Regions from separate parts of the Homo sapiens genome. Here all the other regions are linked to region 2. The links are contacts of gene promoters, found by promoter capture Hi-C in blood cells and fetal thymus (Javierre and others, 2016). All regions are on one chromosome and are shown on one strand. Each heading gives the region's core, a stretch centred on a gene start or on the middle of the fragment in contact. The rest is flanking DNA. Distances are from core to core; before and after follow the strand shown. Region 1 holds the start of MAP3K2 (mitogen-activated protein kinase kinase kinase 2). Region 2 holds the start of BIN1 (bridging integrator 1). Region 3 has its middle 48 kb from the start of IWS1. Region 4 holds the start of IWS1 (interacts with SUPT6H, CTD assembly factor 1).

Evidence for each region. Contacts are between HindIII fragments. The CHiCAGO score rates a contact against its expected background, and 5 or more counts as called.
Region 1: a contact is called between the fragment with the promoter of MAP3K2 here and the fragment with the promoter of BIN1 in region 2, in 2 of 17 cell types (total CD8 T cells and naive CD4 T cells). The highest score is 5.3, in total CD8 T cells.
Region 3: a fragment that was not itself captured here is called in contact with the fragment with the promoter of BIN1 in region 2 in 3 of 17 cell types (fetal thymus, total B cells and naive B cells); the score reaches 7.5 in fetal thymus.
Region 4: the fragment with the promoter of IWS1 here is called in contact with the fragment with the promoter of BIN1 in region 2 in 4 of 17 cell types (total B cells, monocytes, M0 macrophages and 1 more); the score reaches 6.2 in total B cells.

Annotation. Positions count from the first base shown.
Region 1 is chr2:127,386,725-127,389,468 of GRCh38, reverse strand. MAP3K2 (mitogen-activated protein kinase kinase kinase 2) reads left to right here and starts at 1,494. Exons shown (of 17, transcript NM_001371910.2): 1 at 1,494-2,017. It overlaps MAP3K2-DT (MAP3K2 divergent transcript), which reads right to left and starts at 2,031. Exons shown (of 4, transcript NR_187129.1): 1 at 1,917-2,031; 2 at 471-588; 3 at 284-358. RefSeq lists a silencer at 1,205-2,074. The HindIII fragment of the contact is 12,520 bases long and covers 1-2,744 here.
Region 2 is chr2:127,105,818-127,108,517 of GRCh38, reverse strand. It overlaps BIN1 (bridging integrator 1), which reads left to right and starts at 1,364. Exons shown (of 19, transcript NM_139343.3): 1 at 1,364-1,658. The coding sequence starts at 1,575. LOC105373605 (a long non-coding RNA gene) reads right to left here and starts at 1,373. Exons shown (of 4, transcript XR_923311.4): 1 at 703-1,373. RefSeq lists silencers at 1,237-1,296, 1,131-1,425, 1,307-1,516. The HindIII fragment of the contact is 12,156 bases long and covers 1-2,700 here.
Region 3 is chr2:127,477,110-127,479,809 of GRCh38, reverse strand. No RefSeq gene overlaps it. Among named protein-coding and RNA genes, the nearest start is that of IWS1, 48 kb to the left of the region's middle. RefSeq lists an enhancer at 1-3. The HindIII fragment of the contact is 1,926 bases long and covers 417-2,342 here.
Region 4 is chr2:127,525,075-127,527,774 of GRCh38, reverse strand. IWS1 (interacts with SUPT6H, CTD assembly factor 1) reads left to right here and starts at 1,286. Exons shown (of 14, transcript NM_017969.3): 1 at 1,286-1,600. The coding sequence starts at 1,567. RefSeq lists enhancers at 687-756, 997-1,046, 1,307-1,366, 1,897-1,956, 1,967-2,046 and 1 more and silencers at 792-965, 1,607-1,716. The HindIII fragment of the contact is 4,097 bases long and covers 1-1,800 here.

The sequences.
Region 1 (2,744 bases), core at 245-2,744, 280 kb before region 2:
GAGGGAAGGGAGTGGAGAAATGAGCAGCACTATGAGGGGAAAAAATTTATCTCTAGATTACTTAGTAAACAAACACGTTTTTATTGAATGCCTGCTATGTGGTGACCCAGTAACTGTGGAGAACAATATAGATATTTAAGATTTAAATACTATCCTCCGGCGTTCTGAGACCCTCCTTTCTGTGGCATACAGGTCTTAGAATGTTAGATTCAAGAAGGTCTTAGATTTATGCATAAGTCCCCCATTTTTTAAACAAATAGAAGCAAACTGATTTTCCACTGACCTCTGTGTTTCTGAGGTGCACATCCTTGTTCCTGTGACTTTGACACCTCTGTTAATGGGTCTGTAATAAAAATTCCTGGAAGAAACCCAGAGATATTTTGACATTACACAACAGTTTCTCCCTCAGTCTCTGCCCCACAAGTGCCAGCTCCCTTGACCCTCAGAGCCCAAGTTGGGTAGCTCCTTACCTCTGGTTCGGGTGAGTCCCATTCCCATCTCTCTCATTTCAACTGCTCCAGTGGAAATGTGGTCTGGAATATGCATGAAAGGGGTGGATCCAGAATGTACGAAGAAACCAAGAAGAAGCTGAACAGGGAAGAATGGTACAGGAAGTTGTAAGGGGTATTTAAGGAAAGGAGAAGAGATGGGGCGGAAAGGTGCTTTCTGGATCAAAGTAGGGTGAAAACGTCGGGATGCAGGTTAGTCACACCACGGAGGGCCTCACCACTAGTCTGATTAATTTGCATTTTATCCTGTGGGAGATGAGGAGCGAAAGAAAGGGTTTTAGACTCTAGCTTTGGGGGTGGGGTGTCAACTCATGTCTCTGGGCTTAAGTTTCCACATCTGTTAAGCTGGAGAAGTAATACTTGCTGGGCTAACCAATGTACACAACCAGTCATAACCAAGTATCGATGGTGATAAGAACTAAACAGAAAACACAAATAACACTTAGCCAGTCTCCAAGGGGGTGGTTTAAGGTTAGGTGGCAAGCCTGAAGTAATTTCTAAAGTCCCTCAGGAAAAAAATTCTGAAACTTGAGCCACAAATTAAGAGGCAGACGGCTTTTCTCCTTGCAAATGACCTGCCACACAGTCCGTCACTGCCTCTGCTAGCTCTGCTACCCTTGGGCCCTGTCCACAGCCCACGTGGGAGACCTTTTCACGGGATCTACTCGGATGTCTGGGATCTGGCCACTACCGCAGGCTCGAGACAACCCAGGTGCGTATGCGCCGCGCACACGGAACAGCACAGGCTGCCCCGGGGCAGGGGCGGGGGCGGGGCCGAGGCCGGGGCGGAGCCAGGACTGGGAATCCCCGCGCCGTCCGGCCGGTGGGGGCGGTGGCCTGTGTGTGGGCGTGGCGGGCCTCTGCGCAGGCGCCGACCCACTCCCCTGGGCCGGGCGCGCGCCCGCGGCGGGTTCCGCTACCGCCGGGCGGAGGGGTGCGCGCGCACGAGCGAGCGGCCGTGACGTGCGCCGCGCTACGCCCGACGTCACGGGTCCGTGTGTAGTGGCTGCCGGGCTGCCTGCCCTCAGCGGCGGCGCCTGACGAGGGTGCCGCGGCCGCTGGGCGCAGCGTTCGGGGGTTGCACGGCCCGCGGCGGCGACGAAAACAACGACCAGGACGCTCGGCGCCCCTGTCCGCAGAGTCGCCACTCCCGCCTCTTCTCCGGTCTCTAGCGACGCGGGCCCGCGGCTTCCTCCTTTCCTGCCCAGTTCCCGCGGGCCTCGGGGTTGCAGCGGCTAGAAGTGCCGAGGAGCGCCAGGAGGACCCGGCCGGCTGCGAGGATTCACGCGCCCGCCACCCCGCCCGGCCCGGGCTTCATGTGAAAGAGGGACGGGCCTGGCCCCAAGGCCCGCGCCCGACTCCTCGCGCGCCCCTCCGGTCCCCGGGGGCCCTGCGGCAGCCCCCGACCTGGGGCCGCGGTGACAGGCCGCGCTGGGGCGGAGGGGCGGGCTCGGCGGGGGCGGCCCCTCCTTGGGCCTGCGGCTCTCTACGTCCCTGCGGAGCAGCCGGTACGTGCGTGTGTGCGTGCGCGCGCGCTTGTGTGTGTGTGTGTGTGTGTGTGCGCGCGTGTGTGTCGGGGGCCGCGGGCTGGGCGCCGGGAGGGGGGCTGGCGGCGGCCTAAGCGCCGCTCCAGGGGCGGAGATTTCGCTGGGTGATTGCCTAGCTGCGGGAGGGCGGACCTTGGGCCCCCTGCATCCAGTCCTAAAGCCCAGGTCAGCGCGAAGTAGGCTGCTGGGCTGTGTTAGCTGTCAGACACGTACCCTGCAGAGATTTTAGAAGAAAGGTTGCATCTGGTCTTGGGATGAAGCAGAAATGGTACATGCAGTAAGCGAAAAAGTGCTTGTCTTTGCACTGTCACAGTGTGGTAATCTTTTGATGTAAGGTTGTTTCCCCCTTTTCTCTTTACGGAATATTTAGGTAGCACTTAGGGTGCTCTTAGTCTGCGCCCGGCAGTTGTCATGCATTATCTCTCTTCATCTTCCCAGCTCAATGAGGTGGGTAAATTGCCCCATTTTGCAGGTGAAAACTTGAGGCTCAGAGAGATTAAGGCATTTGTCCAAGGTCATGAAGGTAGTAATCCAGGAAGGCTTGGTTCGAATATGCAGATGTCTTTTTGTAAGACTGTATTTCTCGTCTTGCAAAAAATAAATACGTTTAGAAAATGAGACTAACTGGGCAGTTTCTTTAATGGGATAAATTCTAAACACATAGACAGATACAGTTTAGTTTTCCCTA
Region 2 (2,700 bases), core at 115-2,614:
GGGATACCGAGGGACATCATGATAATAGGCCCGGAAGAGGACAGACGAACACACTGGGCCATGGGGCAGCACTGAGCGGTGGTGGAAGAACCCCGAGTAGCCGGAGAAAGAGCAGGAGGGCCTTCCAGGGAAGAGGGAATGGCCTGTGTGAACCCAGGCTGAACCTCTCATTCCTGGGACTCGATTTCTCCATTTGTACAAACTGCTTGGTTTGTGGTCTGCAAGAGCCCTTCCTGTTCCTCCAGGAAGCCTCTCAGGGACCTCTGTCCCTGGCCAGCTCTGCTCCTCTGACCGCTGCGGGTCCTGCAGGCCATAGCCCTGGCTCCTGTGTGTGCACCAGACACGTCTAGGCCTCTTCAGCGGGACCTATCTCTCTGCTCAACTCAATCAACAGTTCTTTAGAAATTTCCAGGGGCAGCAAAGTGCTGTAGCCCCTGACATGTTTTAGGGCTGAATGGGGGTGGGTATCAGCAGACTCAATACGTATTTATTAACTTAAAAGAAGTGTCATTGGTCTATTGGCAAAGCTGGTTAGCAATAACCTTATCTTCTCCAGGAATAATGATCACTAATCATTCCTTCCTGCTGGGGGTAGGAGACAACCCGGCGTATGGTGGTGGAGCACCTGGGAGACAGAGGCAGAGATCTCGTTCCTCGATCCCGGCGCGTTGGTTGTAAAGTAGGAACAGTAATAGCACCTACCTCTAGGGCCACGGAGACCGAATGAAATAATGCCTGTCAAGTCACTTAGTACACAGTAAGCACTCAGTAATGCTAGGTTGTTGTTATTATAATAAATTTTTAGCGAACGGGAAGACCAAGCACCGGTTGGTACTGGGCTAGGCGCCGTAGGCAAAGATGTGGAGATGTCCCGGAGGCGCCTAGGGTATCCGGGCGAAAACCCGAGGGCCGAAGGCTGGGAGGAGGCGGAGCGTCGGGCACCGGGCACCGGGCACCGGGCGGGAGGTGAGCCCCTGGAAAAGGAGGGGGCTCCGGGCGCGTTCTCCCAGCAGCCGCGGCTCCTCTGTTCAGGGCCGCGCCCCCTTCGCCGCACTTTCTCTTTGATTTCGAAAGCACTCCTCTCCTCCACCTAGTCTCCTTTCCTGGGTTGCAGGAGATTACTGCTTGCGGGGAAGACCAAGACGCCAGGCCGGCGGATTAGTCCCCGCCCCGGGGCGGTGCAGCTGGAGCGTCAGGGGAGTCCCGCTCGCCGCAGCCCCAGCGCCGCGCGCGCCCCTCCCTCCTCGCGGACCTGGCGGTGCCGGCGCCCGGAGTGGCCCTTTAAAAGGCAGCTTATTGTCCGGAGGGGGCGGGCGGGGGGCGCCGACCGCGGCCTGAGGCCCGGCCCCTCCCCTCTCCCTCCCTCTGTCCCCGCGTCGCTCGCTGGCTAGCTCGCTGGCTCGCTCGCCCGTCCGGCGCACGCTCCGCCTCCGTCAGTTGGCTCCGCTGTCGGGTGCGCGGCGTGGAGCGGCAGCCGGTCTGGACGCGCGGCCGGGGCTGGGGGCTGGGAGCGCGGCGCGCAAGATCTCCCCGCGCGAGAGCGGCCCCTGCCACCGGGCGAGGCCTGCGCCGCGATGGCAGAGATGGGCAGTAAAGGGGTGACGGCGGGAAAGATCGCCAGCAACGTGCAGAAGAAGCTCACCCGCGCGCAGGAGAAGGTGAGCGAGCCGGAGCCCCAGCAGCCGCGGAGTCCCAGCCGCCGCGGAGCCCCGGCCACCTGTCCCCCTATCCTCCGACCCCGGGGCCTGGTCCTTCGCCAGGATCTGGTGCTGTCACCTCTAGAGGAGCGCTTTCGAGGGGCTTCGAGGTCCCCAGGCTGCGTTCCCCGGCGCTCTGGGTGCCCTCTTAGGTTTGCGTCCTCTGTCTCCCCACACCCGGCCGGGGCAGGACAGGGCCCCGCTTTGCACCTTCGTGGCTCGGCTGCACAGCAGTGGCCGGCCCTGCTCCAGGCTCTTCTCAGGCGCGCGCTCCAGGCTACCCCGCTTTGGAGGCCAAGGGCCGGGAGGCTGGGAGGCCAGGTGGTGACCCTCAGCTCTCCAGGCCCATGCAGGCAACCTAGGCTGGGCCGGCGCTCGGGGCGAGAGGGAGTATGTCCCTCTGCCCCTGGGGACACTATTCCCCCGGACTCCCAAGGCTGCTTCTCGAACCGGCACCCACAGTTCCTTCCTTCCCACTGCTTCTCCACTTTCGTTCTCCGTGGGCCGAAGGAGGGATTGGGTTTCCTTTCCCGAGAGGTGCCTGCGGCCTGGAAGCTCCCGCCCAGCCCGGCCCCACCGGGAGCCCAGGGCTACGCACCCCGCAAGGAGGTGCCCTCGCCCCAGCAGGGGCTTAGCGTTTCCGGCGGCCGGGGAGCGGGTGGCGGCACTGGCTTTGGGAGCCCACGGCCGGGTGGGGAGCTGGCCTGGAGGAGGCGCGTGGAAGGCGCCACAGGAAACCCGACCCCTCCTCGCGGAGAGCTGGAATGGGGGATGGAGCCGGGGCCTCCCAGGGTGCCCAGAGCGTGCAGGAAATGCAGAGATTGAGGGGCGGGGGTCTGCACCCGGTCAGTTGTCTATCCCAAGCCACCTCTGGTTTATTGAATTGGATCACGCCAGCTGCTGACGCCACTTCCCCTGACGACTCCAACTCTGAAATCTGAGATTGCAGAATCTGTGTTTCTGCCAGGGTGGCCCCCCAGTGCCCCGCGGCCAGGCCTGCCCC
Region 3 (2,700 bases), core at 130-2,629, 370 kb before region 2:
GCAGTTGAGCAGTTAGAGGAGAGAGAAAAATTATAGCTTGTAGCTATGTTTCTTGTTGCTCTATTTTTGTGATAATAGTCTCTATAGACTTAATTATGAGAGGTCTCTTAAGGTCAAGATGACGAGGCCCAAGAACGTTTTATCAACTAGATTATTTTAATTTCAGAAATCCTATTCTGATACGGATTGGCACCTTGATCTTCAGAAACACATAAAACTACTTTTGGCCAAAAAAGCCTTTGAACAGCTAAAATAATGAAGTTTAGATACTAAAACACTGCTCACAAGAAACTCTCAAACTATTTACTTCCAGCAAACGCAGAAGCACAGTGGGATATAGTGCTTTGTAAAAAGCAGGTGCATAAAGGCATTAGAAGGTAATAGCTAGCCACTAGATGGAGACAAAAACCTAAGCTTTTCTGCAATGTTTCATACAAATACCCTCAAAAACACTTGAGAAGGAAAAAGCAGAGGCATCTAGTGAAGCCTTACACTGATCATTAAAAAATAAATTTGAAACAAAGACAACAAAGGTTGTATTTAAGAAAGATTTTTAAGTTACACAATTTTGTCATTTAATGGGGTAAGCTCCAATTACCTGAAAATTTCACTATTACAGGGTAAAACTTTAACGATGTTGGCAAGTAAAAAGTTTTAAACCATACCCGGGGAATTCAAAATGGTAAGAGATTCTCCTGTACTGTGTTTGAAGGAAAAAATTAGTTTCTATATAAATGATCCTTGGTGTTGGTTTTATGGCAGCTCAAACCTAGCTGGCCAGAAAAACCTTTAATTTTGAAGATATTTCCAATTTATAGTAGTTGCAAAAATAGTAAATAAACTCCGGTATACTCACTGATATTTACCAAGTGTTAACGTTTTGCCACGTCATTGACTCTGTCATCTTGTATATGCATAGAGCTATTTTTGCAGACTCAGAGTAACTTGCCGACAACTTGCCCCTTGAGCCCCAAATACTTCAGCATATTTCTTCCAAGAACATAGACTTTAGTTTTGTCCCAGAATTGATGATACTAACTTTGACAACTTGGCTATGATGATACAGAGTTGTGGGGGATTTTGTTTGTTTTTTAAGAGATGGGTTCTTACTGTGTCGCCCAGGCTGAAGTGCAGTGGTGTGATCCTAGCTCCCTGCAGCCTTGAACTCCCAGGCTCAAGCAATCTTCCTGCCTCAGTCTCCTCCCAAGTGGCTGGGACTATAGGCATGCACTCTCATGCTTGGCTTTTTTTCTTCCCCTTCCGGTTTTAAGATTTACTATCTTAAACAGTTTTACCGCTCAGTGGCATTGAGTATGTTCACAATGTATCGCCATCACCACCATTCATCTTCAGAAATCTTCTCATCTTGCAAAATTTTAACTCTACCTATCAAAGAACTCTCCTTCCTCCCCCAAGCTCTTGGCAACCACCATTCTACTTTCTGTCTCTTACGAGTTGTCTGTTCTAGGTACCTCATATAAGTGGAATCATACATTTGTCTTTTTGCGACTGTCTTATTTCACTTGGTATAATGTCCTCAAGGTTTGTCCATGTGTCCAAATTTCCTTGCATTTTAAGGTTGCATAATATTCCAGTGTGTGTATATACCACATTTTGTTTGTCCATTCATCTGTCAATGGACACTTGGGTTGCCTCCACCTTTGGCTATTGTGAATAACGCTGCTGTGATCATGGGTGTACAAGTATTTGTTCAAGACCTTTTTTTCTTCACTTTTAGAGATATTAAAAAACAACCATTTTTTTTTCCAATTCTTTTGGTTATATACCTAGAAGTAGAATTGCTAGATCATATGGTAATTCCATTTTAAATTTGTTTAGAAAGTGCCATACATACACTTTCCATAAGGGGCTACACAATTTTATATTCCCACCAATAGTACACAAGAGTTCCAATTTCTCCATATGCTTGCTAACACTTGTTATTTTTATTTTTTGATGGTAGCCATCCTAAGTGATGTGAGGTGGTATCTTGTGATTTTAGTTTGCATTTCCCTAATGATAGTGATGTAGAGCATCTTTTAATGTACTTTTTGACCATTTATATATCTTCCTTGGAGAAATGTCTATTCAAGTCATTTGCCCAGTTTTATATTGGGTTGTTTGGTGTGAGTTGTAGGAGTGCTTTGTGTACTCATGTTAATGCTTTATCAGCTATATGATTTGCAAATACTCTCTTTCATTCTTTAGATTGCCTTTTCACTCTTGATTGTGTTCTTCGTTGCACACATTTAAATTTTGCTGTATCTCACTTTTTTCTTTTATTGCCTGTGCTTTTGGTGTCATATCAAAAAAATTATTGCCAAATTCAATATTATGAAGCTTTTACCCTATAATTTTGTAAGTTTAGTTCTTATGTTTAGGTCTTTGATCCATTTCTAGTTGATTTTTTGTATGTTGTGTAAAATAAGGTTCCAACTTTATCCATTTGCATATGGATATCAAGTTTCCCCAGCAACATTTACTGAAAAAAACTTATTTTCCCCATGGAATGGTCTTGCAAGTCTTTTCAAAAATCATTTGACCATATGTGTAAGAGTTGATTTCTGGACTTTCTTCTTTTCCATTGGTCTGCATGTTGCAATATAGAACTGTCTGTGTGTCTGTCCCCACTGAAGTCAGGACGTGTGAGTCTTCCAACTTTGTTGTTTTTCAAGATTGTTTTGGCTATTTGAGATTTCA
Region 4 (2,700 bases), core at 37-2,536, 420 kb before region 2:
TTCCAGAGAGAAACCACTTCTCCCCTTTCTTCTCTTCCCACGTCCTCTTCAGGAGCCTATAATTGGGCTCTGCCAGCATACTCTGACTGGCTAACGAAGGGTCAGATATCTGCAGTAGTAACAAAAGGCTCTTTTTCTACATGTCTACACCTCCTGGGGAGTCTTTGCTTAAACCTCTACTGGCCCTCCTCCGATCCAAAGGCAAGAATGTTCCCCTCTCTGTCCAAGACTAAAATGAACAAGTAAGGAAATGGATTTTACTCAGCCTATTGCAATAGGGAGAGCACTCCAGATATGATCAGTGTCTTGGCAGCGTAGTTTTGACTTTTATAGGGAGGAAGGTGGGATGATTGACAGTTGGGATTGTTTTGCAATCAGGAGAAGTTTCAGTCAGGTGAACAGGAAATGTTCTCTGTGTCTAACAAGTTGGGGGGAGGAGAGTTCTAATCTCAACTAATCACTCGATATCATCAGCGGGAATTTGGAAGGTCTGTTTGGCTTTATTAACAGGCTCAGAATAAAGGGGAAAGGTCTCTGGCCTTGTCACAGGCAAACAAGGGGGTCATCTGCACGCGTTTTATCTGAGTCACATGGAGACGGGTGGTTCTTTACAGTGTGCCGTTCCAGAAACACAAATAGATGAGGGGGTTTCTTAATCACCGCTGTTTTCCAGGAACACAGGGCTCAGGTAAAGTTCAACTTCACCTTCCTCCGGTGTTTCATCAGGGGAACCCTTCTGGAAGCAAAGACGTGTACTTCTTACTGTTGGCTAAATGGCTTCTTAACAAGGAAATTAAATCGTTGTTTAGAATGAAAGAGAGGAAGACGCCGGGAGAGGAGGCGCTGTGGATCGCGCCAGTTAGTAACGCATCACAGCTCGCGGGCGTCATACTACAAGTCCCAGTGAGCAACGCCCGCTTTCTTGCCTACTGCGGGCGGGAACCAGGCGCCTCTGGGCCTGACGGGAAAGACAGTGGTTTGGCTGAATGACGGAAAAGTCATTTGAGCAGGTCTTCATTTTTCGGAAGAGTATCTCAAAAGCTCTTCAAACAAGGCACGGACACAGAATCTAGGAAATGATAAAGAATCAATGATAACGTTATTACCACGGGGGTCAGACCAGGATCCACCCGAGGAAGGTATTTAACTAAAGCCCGAGTTCCAGCTCAATTTTCCCAGGAGTCTCCTTTCCGGCCGTGCCTGGCGTCATTGCTGTTGCGTCTTCTCATTGGCCGGTTGACGGGTTGCGGCGCCTGCGCGCTGCATTCCTTTGAGGGTCGTGGGCAGACGCCATTTTGGCCCCAGCGGTGCTTCTAGGAAGTAGAACGCCGGCTCGCATGCCTGCCCGCCCGCCAGCCTGCCGGGTACGGCCTTTTCCGCCGGGGCTTCCAGGTCAAAGAATTCGCCTTTGCCGCTACCGCTTTCTTACCCTCCGCACCCGTTAAGTTCTCCGGTCGGGCGGCAGTCTCTGAACACTTAGCCGCGCCATCCGGGGTCACACCGCCTGGAAGGAGGTGACGGGGGCGGCGCGGGGCGCGGACACTCCCCGCTGAGAGTCCGCCTGCCATGGACTCGGAATATTACAGCGGCGACCAGTCAGGTGGGGCAGGGACCTGGGGGACCGGGCTGGGAGGCGGAGCAGTTACTCGGCGGGGCTTGGCCTGGCACCCCGCGGGTGGGGGCAAGGAGGCCCCCCGAAACCTTCCCTCCCGCGACCCGGCCCGAGGAGGGCAAGAGCCCTCTGACCAGCTGCAAGCGTCGAAGCTAGAACGTTGGAGAGGGGATTCTGGTGGGAAAGCTTTCTTCTGAATCGGCGAAGGTTTTTGCTGAAATTGGGAAGTCACTTTCATATGTTAAGCTCCTATTGTGTGCAGGGAAGGAGAGGTGTCTTCTGTTAAGAGAGTTTTCAGTAGTTGAGTAGTTGGAGAATCCAAGGGGCGTTGGGGCGGGGGATCCTTCCTAGACTTTTCACTGCTAGTTAGGAGTGGTTTAATCTTGCTTGCAACACCGGACGTAAGTGCAGGACCCATGTTTCAGTTGCATGCATAGAGTAAGGAATGCGCTTCTGGCACTTACTGGTGGTTTTTGTGCCTTTCCTCCACCTTGAGATCGTTCCTCTTCCTCCTCACCGAAGTTTGGTCTCCTTTCTTTACTGTTTGTTTATTCTGTAAGCTGTTACTGGGGCCCACTCTGCTGGCACGGTGCTTGGCACCTGAGATTAAGGATAAGTGAGGCAGAACCTGGTGTGGGAAACACGTCGCATTTGCTTTCCCTTTGTGTGCTAGTCCTGTTGGGGCGTTCTGTTACAAAAGTTCTTAAATACACCATAAATAAATACACCCTCTATGTACCCACAAAAATTGAAAATTAAAAAGAAAACTTGAGTGCTTAAATAATTGTTTAAGCGTTAAGCCCTTTACTGTTTTGAGTTCATTGCTTTTCCTTACGTAGGACAGTGAATTCTAATGACTGCAAAGCGTTTTCCAGGCATGCACTGCTTAAAAACACTTTCCTAAGCCAGGTGCGGTGGATTATGCCTGTAATCCCAGCACTTTGGGAGGCGTAGGCGGCCGATGGCTTGAGCCCAGGAGTTCGAGACCAGCCTGGGCAACATAGTGAGACCAACACCACCCCCACCCCCCATGCCCGTACCCCACCCCCCTACGCCCCTACCCCACCCCCCTACTTCGTCTCTACAAA